2 separate regions of the Homo sapiens genome follow, and region 1 is linked to region 2. Evidence: promoter capture Hi-C in 16 types of primary human blood cells and fetal thymus (Javierre and others, 2016). All regions are on one chromosome and are shown on one strand. The core of a region is centred on a gene start or on the middle of the fragment in contact, and the rest is flanking DNA. Distances in the headings are between cores, read along the strand shown. Region 1 holds the start of TRA2B (transformer 2 beta homolog). Region 2 overlaps ATP11B (ATPase phospholipid transporting 11B (putative)).

Region 1 (3,530 bases), core at 801-3,300, 3.1 Mb before region 2:
AGGACTGGGAGGGTTGTGAGGAGTGGAGAGGAGGAGGGATGCAAAATGACTATTAATGAGTGTTTCTTTTCTTAATGTGATGAGACTACTCTAAAATTGTGGTGATGGTTGCACAATTCTGTGAATAAAAGCCATTTGAACTGTACACTTTAAATAAGGGAACTGCATAGTAGGTGAGTCGTATCTCAATAAAGCTGTTAAAAAAAATCAGGAGTTGGGGATATGGGGCTGAGGCAGGAGGAACACTTGAGACTGGGAGGTGCAATGAGCCACCGCACTCCAGCCTGCACGACAGAGCCAGAGAGACCCTGTCTCAAAAAAAAAAAAAAAAAATCAAATGACCCTTTACCAGTATCAAAGTGCCTCATCAGCCAGGTACCACCTTTTCAATGGATGGGGAGACTGAAGTGTAGAGGAATTAAGTATCCGACTTGGGGGTTGGGGGAAGTGGCTCACGCCTGTAATCCCAACACTTTGGGAGGCCGAGGTGGGAGGATCGCTTGAGCCCAGGAGACCAGCCTGGCCAATATGCCAAAACTCCGTCTCTATAAAAAATACAAAAAATTAGCCTGGCGTGTTGGCAGGCGCCTGTAATTCCAGCTGCTACGGAGGCTGAGGCGGAGAATCACTTGAACCCGGGAGGCAGACGTTGCAGTGAGCCGAGATCGCGCCGTTGCACTCCAGTCTGAGCGACAAAGCAAGACTCCGTCTCAAAAAAAAGAAGAAAGAAAGTATCCGACTTGGTCTTGGGCTCTTCTCACTATAATCCAACTATATTCTCTTACGAAATGGCAGAATTAATCTTCCCTCCTTGTGACACCCCTGTAGTTATACATGCCTCTGGCACTTACAATCATTTTTTCTAATTGTGTTTAACGGTTCTAGCACATTACTTTGTAACTTTAGAATAGAGATTGTGTCTGATTCCTGTGTATTAAGGTCCGACCTTTTTTATTTTTATTTATTTATTTTTTAGACAGAGTCTCGCTCTGTCGCCCAGGCTGGAGTGCAGCGGTCCGATCTCGGCTCACTGCAACCTCCGCCTCCCGGGTTCAAGCGATTCTCCTGCCTCAGCCTCCCGAGTGGCTGGGATTACAGGCATGCATCACCACTCCCGGCTAATTTTTTTGTATTTTTAGTAAAGACTGGGTTTCACCATGTTGGCCAGGCTGGTCTCGAACTCCTGACCATGTGATCCGCCTGCCTCGGCCTCTCAAAGTGCTGGGATTACAGGCGTGAGCCACCGCACCCAGCCGATCTGACCTTTTTTTTTTTTTTTTTTTTTTTTTGAGACGGAATCTCGCTCTATTGCCCAGGCTGGAGTGCAGTGGCGCGATCTCGGCTCACTGCAAGCTCCGCCTCCTGGGTTCACGCCATTCTCCTGCCTCAGCCTCCCAAGTAGCTGGGACTACAGGCGCCCGCCACCGCGCCTGGCTAATTTTTTTGTATTTTTAGTAGAGACGGAGTTTCACTGGGTTAGCCAGAATGGTTTCGATCTCCTGACCTCGTGATCCACCCGTCTCGGCCTCCCAAAGTGCTAGGATTACAGCGTGAGCCAGCGCGCCCAGCCCGATCTGACCTTTTTTAAATGAAGACGTATTCAGGAAGGAAATATCTACAAGTAAGACAAAATTAAGTAAGAACCCAATGTACGAACATTCACTTCTCTAACAAAGGAAAGACACAAAACAAGAAACTAATAAGGCGGAGAAAGGAATTGAGATTGGGGGAAACAGCATCTCCTTCCTCCCTGCACACTCGGCAGGTTCCCTGGAAAGTTCTAGAAGGGATTCAGAAGTGGCTGGTGACATCACTGTGGCTCCGTGGCGCCCACTACAGCAGCCAAACGACACGCTAGCTTTCCCGCCTCATAGAGGCTCGTGAATGGGGGTGGGGCCCTGCGAGGGGCGGGGTCACGTCACTTCCTGTGCGGGACGCGCTGCAGCTGGAGAGGAAAGGCAGAGCGAGGAGGGGCGAGGCCAAGAAAGCGCGCGTTTCTGGGAGGGGAGGAGCCTGGCTAAGGAGCGCCGCGTCACATCCGGTAGAGTTAGAGCCCGTGCGGAGGCGGTGCGGAGCATTTCGGCTCTGAGCGGCTGGGCGACCGGCGCGTCGTGCGGGGCTGCGGCGGAGCCTCCTTAAGGAAGGTGCAAGAGGTTGGCAGCTTCGATTGAAGCACATCGACCGGCGACAGCAGCCAGGAGTCATGAGCGACAGCGGCGAGCAGAACTACGGCGAGCGGGTACGTAGAGCTGCGGTAGGGGGTGGCTGTGTGGTCCTAGCTCCTTGCATCTTTTTCTAGGCCCGTCGGCCTCGGGCCAGGAGGCAGGGGCGTTTTAGGCTCCGAAGTCTGAAGCCGGGAGGGCAGGCAAGGGAGACAGCATTTAACCAAAAAAAGCCTTTGTGGATAGTGCCTTAGTGCCTTTGGTCGTGAAGGAGGGAGGCCCCCGGCGGGTTTATGTGGCTTCTGCCCGAGACGGCCGTTTTTCCCGTTATAAGAGGGGGAAGATGAAAATGGCCGCTGCGTCCCCGCGGTGTTGGGGGAGGGGAGCGATATCTTATTTCGGCGTTGCTCTCCTGCGAAGGTCCGCCGCAGCCATCTTGGGCTGGCGGGCTGGGCGAGCTGCCAGAGGCACAAAATGGCGGAGAAGCCGCGCGGCAACGCGGACCCGACCCGCAGCGGGCCGCGCTTCGTAAGGCCGCGTGGTGGGGTGCAAGGGGACAGACGACGTTCTTTTGGGTCTTTGGGCCGGTGTTTAGGTTAACGAAGGACCGTCTTTGCCTCCACGGAAAGGACGGAGTCTGGGATGTCTTTGGGGCCTCTTAAGATGGAAACTAATCCAAGGCCGACTAAGTTCTGGGCCCGTTAGGTGGAGGGGATTGCGTGAGGGCTTTGTGTTTGGCCTAAATGAAGCGCTTTTCTCTGATGCCGAAAGGGCTTCCCAGGCAAAAATCTGTATCAGTATTCTATTAGGACAGACCACAAAGTCGTTAAGATGATTTTGTGGACATCGCATTTCCACGGGATTGTGAAGGAGAAATTGGCGGGCAACCATTTACGGCGCCGTTATTTCCTTTGTTTTGAGGCGTTCTAATACTTAGAACCACAGCGTGTGTTGGCTACAGTTTTCTTTCCCTTAAGTTTCCACCTCTTAAAGGTGTTCAGTGAGGGTTGATTGAATTGCGGGAACAAGACAGTTCTAGGGTTTAAACAGCATACGTAGCTGGTCTGTGGGGCTCTGGGTATTGGATTCGGAAAGCATTGAATGATGCGAACATACGAGGCTTGCTAGAATTAAGAGGAATCTGTTAGAAGGGTGATAGAAAAGCACCATAGAAATTGATTTTTGAGGCTGTGGGAATAATTTGTGCTTTTTTAAAAAAAAAAAACAATTTGTTACCTAAGTTTCCCCTTGTTGGTAAAGCTACCTTAAGATCTGAATATGATTTATCAGGTAAATAAGACTATTAAATGTCTTAGCAAACTTTTGATTAAGATTTTATATGATTCCTCAGAGTATTTTAGGAAGAAA
Region 2 (3,900 bases), core at 669-3,168:
AGTGGCATGATCTTGGCTTACTGCAACCTTTGCCTCCCACGTTCAAGTGATTCTGCTGCTTCAGCCTCCTGAGTAGCTGGGATTACAGGTGCCCATCACCACGCCAGGCAAATTTTCGGATTTTTAGTAGAGATGAGGTTTCACCATGTTGGCCAGGCTGGTCTCGAACTCCTGACCTCAGGTGATCTGCCTGTCTCGGCCTCCCAAAGTACTGGGATTACAGGAATGAGCCACCTTGCCCGGCCAGGTTTTACATTTTTTAATACTGTTTTTGAAATCCAATGTGTATTTTATACGTAAGAATAACTCTACTCAAACTAGCCACATTCCAAATACATCAGCCAGCACAGTTTTATAGATCTGTTTTTCAGAAAATTAAAAAGAATTTGCCAGTTACAGGTACAGGAAAAAGTAGCAGAGAGGCTTGAACATGTTCACAAGTTAAGAGAAAAAGTAAAGAGAAAGAAAAGAAACATACTAATGATAACTGATGGAGTATGGACAGCAGAATGAAAGAAAAGGATCAAAAGCTTAAGTGGAATTGTTATCTTGGAAAAGAGGGTTGCATCTTCCTTGTGACTGTGAAGGGAAGAATTAAGTACCAGTATAAAATATAAGCAAGTTCGGTGAGTGTGAGGAAGAACAGAAAGTTGAGGGAGTTCAGATTAAGACCTTCTCATTTTTCTCAGTTAATCAGAAGACAATCTTAGCAGCCTCCTACCACCATCGCCAATACAATCTAAAGGGATTACATTTATGGAACAGTTTAAGAAACAGTTATCCTAGTAATACTGTTTTTGTGTAATTACTCATTTTCTAACTTTTTTCTGGGCTAGTCAATCTTAAATTTGGTCATTTTTGTCTCTAAACACAGAAACAACACTACAGATTCATTCTTTCTTTCCTCATCTATTAATTATTTGTTCAGCAACATGTATCCAATGTCTACTTATGTAGAGTATGTGTGACCCTGACCAACATTTGTATCCCTGGTATTCAGCATCTGTTAATACCAGCACACAGCAAGTGCTTTAAAAATGTAGTATTACATTCAAATATGTACTGACACAGACTTTCATTTAAAAGTCTAAATTGGTGCTGTCCAATAGAATTTTCTGTGATAATGAAAATATGAACTGTCCAATATGGCAGCCAATGGCAGCCAATAGACACATGAATTCAAATTTTAATTTTAATACCCACATATGGCTCCAATTTTAATTTTAATGGCCACTTGTGGCTAATGGCTACCGTACAGGTCTAAATATTAGAATACAGTGAGTAGCTAATGGCATTTCCATAATTATAATCAAGGTATTGTCATCTCTAATGAGTTAATACATAAAATATGGTACTGAAAATGAGTATACTTTGAATAATACTAACTGTACCACAAAGACACCATAAGAGAATTTTCTTAGTGTCAAGTAACTTTAACATTGTGTGCCAAAAAGAAAAACAAAAAAGGATATTCCAATCTTTTTATTTTCAGCCTACTTTCCCAATAGAAAAGATCAAGCTTCTGTCAACTTTCTGATTTTTCCATCTTCTCAAGTAGTGAAAATATTTTGTCATAAGGAGTCACACTTTTTTTTAATTAAAAAGAAATTACTAGAACATAGGCATTGTTTCTGTAATAAAAGGACTTTTTTGTGAGACATTAGTTGAAAATCGGGATTCATATAACGAATTAAATATGCTTATAACTCCAACCTGTCCTTAGGATTTGCTTGTCAATTTCCCCAAATTTGTCCTAGTTATCTGCATTTTAAAATAAACCCATTGCTGAAAGTCGTGGTGATTCAATCCATTAAGCCACTGGAAGTATAATCTAAACTAGCTTTTACCTGAGTTGAATAATTTCTGGTGCAGTAATCAGAATAGCTGTCTATGACTGGGATAGCAAAATATACTTTCATTACTCTGTATCCAGGGTCCTTGATGTTTAATTTATGTGATCATACAAACTTAACCAGAGACACAAAGTCCTACATTGGCCCAAGTATGATTACATACTTAGAGGATCTGATAACTTAAAACCAGTGAGGTGAGCAACTAAATGTCAGAGATAGCATTTTTTATGCACAGGAACTTGTTCAACTCGTTAACCATCCCTGTTAAGACGGCTGCCTTGTAAAATAACCACACACAACTTCCGGCCCTTCCTTTTAGCTGGGTTCATTTGAAGCCATTTTAAAAAACATTACCAGGTTTTCTGTCTTGAAGATGAGCATGGTTATACAACCAGGATTTTATTCTGGCTAAAAAATACCTAACAGTGAGAAAGGATGTCTCAATACATTTTTAAAAAAGCTTCAAGAGAACCACTTTAAAATGATCTTCCTACCACACAAAAACACCATCAGGTAAATCAGCCCTCTATACAAGAAGATTTGGCAAATCAAAAGCATAAGATCAAATCTGTAATAATTAACTTTCTGAGTAAAATTACTGTGCTACAGCTTACTGCAACAAAGCCAAAGTATTACAAGATGGTATTATAATGACATCATTAGCTTGGTTTCCTAATAAAGCATATATCTGGGATATCTGAATTTACAATGCTAAAAACAGAGACCCAACATTTGTAGGAGGGAGTGGTAGGCAGTTCTTATTTATAATTTTTTTTTTTTTTTGAGAATGATGCCCGCTGCAAAACGAAGTAACAGAAGGCTGGCTCTGAAACACCACACTTCTTGGTCTTAACGTTAAAATGCTTTTCTAGAGCAGAAGGGAAAAAGAGTTATCAGTGCTTTCGTCCCACAAAAATAGTTCCTGTTTCACTAAATTTTACCACTGCCTTTAGAATTAGTAAATGAAAACGCCAACTTGTAGAAGCATTAAGTTAATGCGATTTAGAAATTAAATAGTAACCGGCCTCATCACACAGATAAGGTTAGGCTTCTTCAGCCAGGGGCAATTTCTGTCCTAATTGTCACAGCTGCCTTAATGCTGTACTTTCTGCGCTGTAGCTGCCAGGAGGCAGATAAGATTTTTCTCTCTGAATTAATTCTGGGAAAGGTGGCACTTTTTATAGGCCTTAAATGACCCTTTTCTAAGATTTTTTGTTGGTGGTGTCCAGATGTTCCAATAATACTGGAGAGTTAACTATTCCTTCCAAACCTGTGTCGTTCAAACTGCCTTGAGGAGAACGGGAAAAAAGTAAGGTTCACACTCGAAAAGTTTCACTCGGGGTGGGGTGAGGACGAGGTAGGAAGGAAACGACAGTACGTATCGTTCGTAACTATCGTACAATACGTATCGTTTCCGAAGCTAGACCGGCAGCTGGCACAGTCTTTCCCCTTTCCAGGTCCTGGGGAGAAACGTCTCTCGCTGAGGGGGCTAGACACCTACGACAGCCTCCTCCTCGGGAATCAACACAGCTCTGGATCGTGACACGCTTCCAGAAGTCCGTGACGAGTGGGGGCAGAAGACAGGTTCTTCGCTTCCCCTTCACCCAAACACGTCCCAAATTGTTCGAGGCAGGAAGAGCACGCCTCTCTCATCTCCCCAAGACCTACTCTCGCTCAGCTCCCTCGCCCTGTTTCCTCTGGGGGCACCGCCACCCCGCTCGGGACTCCCGCCTCTGGCCACAGCAGCCCCGGAGCGGCAAGGGGGAAGAAGTAACGGAGAAGCGCCGGCTAGAAGCGGCCGCCTCCGGCCGCTCGGCGCCAGCCTCGGCGGCCCGGGCTTGGAGGCGAGACGAGCCCGGGAGCCGCACGGGGCTTCTCCGGCTCTGGGCCCCGCGCCCGTCTCCGCTGCGGCCTAGCCGGGCGCCCACGCCCTGGCCTCCCGGCTCCGCGCCGCCGGCCTTTCCCCGCCACCCCGGGCCGAGAGGCCCCGCGGGGGCGGACGAATGGAGGTGGAGGGGCGGGGGCACCTACCAGCTGCTGCCGGATC

Evidence for each region. The method cuts DNA at HindIII sites, captures the fragments that hold promoters and counts their contacts. A CHiCAGO score of 5 or more calls a contact.
Region 1: a contact is called between the fragment with the promoter of TRA2B here and a fragment that was not itself captured in region 2, in 1 of 17 cell types (naive CD4 T cells). The highest score is 5.2, in naive CD4 T cells.

Annotation. Positions count from the first base shown.
Region 1 is chr3:185,936,534-185,940,063 of GRCh38, reverse strand. It overlaps TRA2B (transformer 2 beta homolog), which reads left to right and starts at 2,050. Exons shown (of 9, transcript NM_004593.3): 1 at 2,050-2,239. The coding sequence starts at 2,204. RefSeq lists enhancers at 2,119-2,578, 1,989-2,716, 2,619-2,828. The HindIII fragment of the contact is 7,639 bases long and covers 1-3,530 here.
Region 2 is chr3:182,793,771-182,797,670 of GRCh38, reverse strand. ATP11B (ATPase phospholipid transporting 11B (putative)) reads right to left here. Exons shown (of 30, transcript NM_014616.3): 1 at 3,885-3,900. Among named protein-coding and RNA genes, the nearest start is that of ATP11B, 2.2 kb to the right of the region's middle. RefSeq lists a silencer at 3,583-3,900. The HindIII fragment of the contact is 794 bases long and covers 1,522-2,315 here.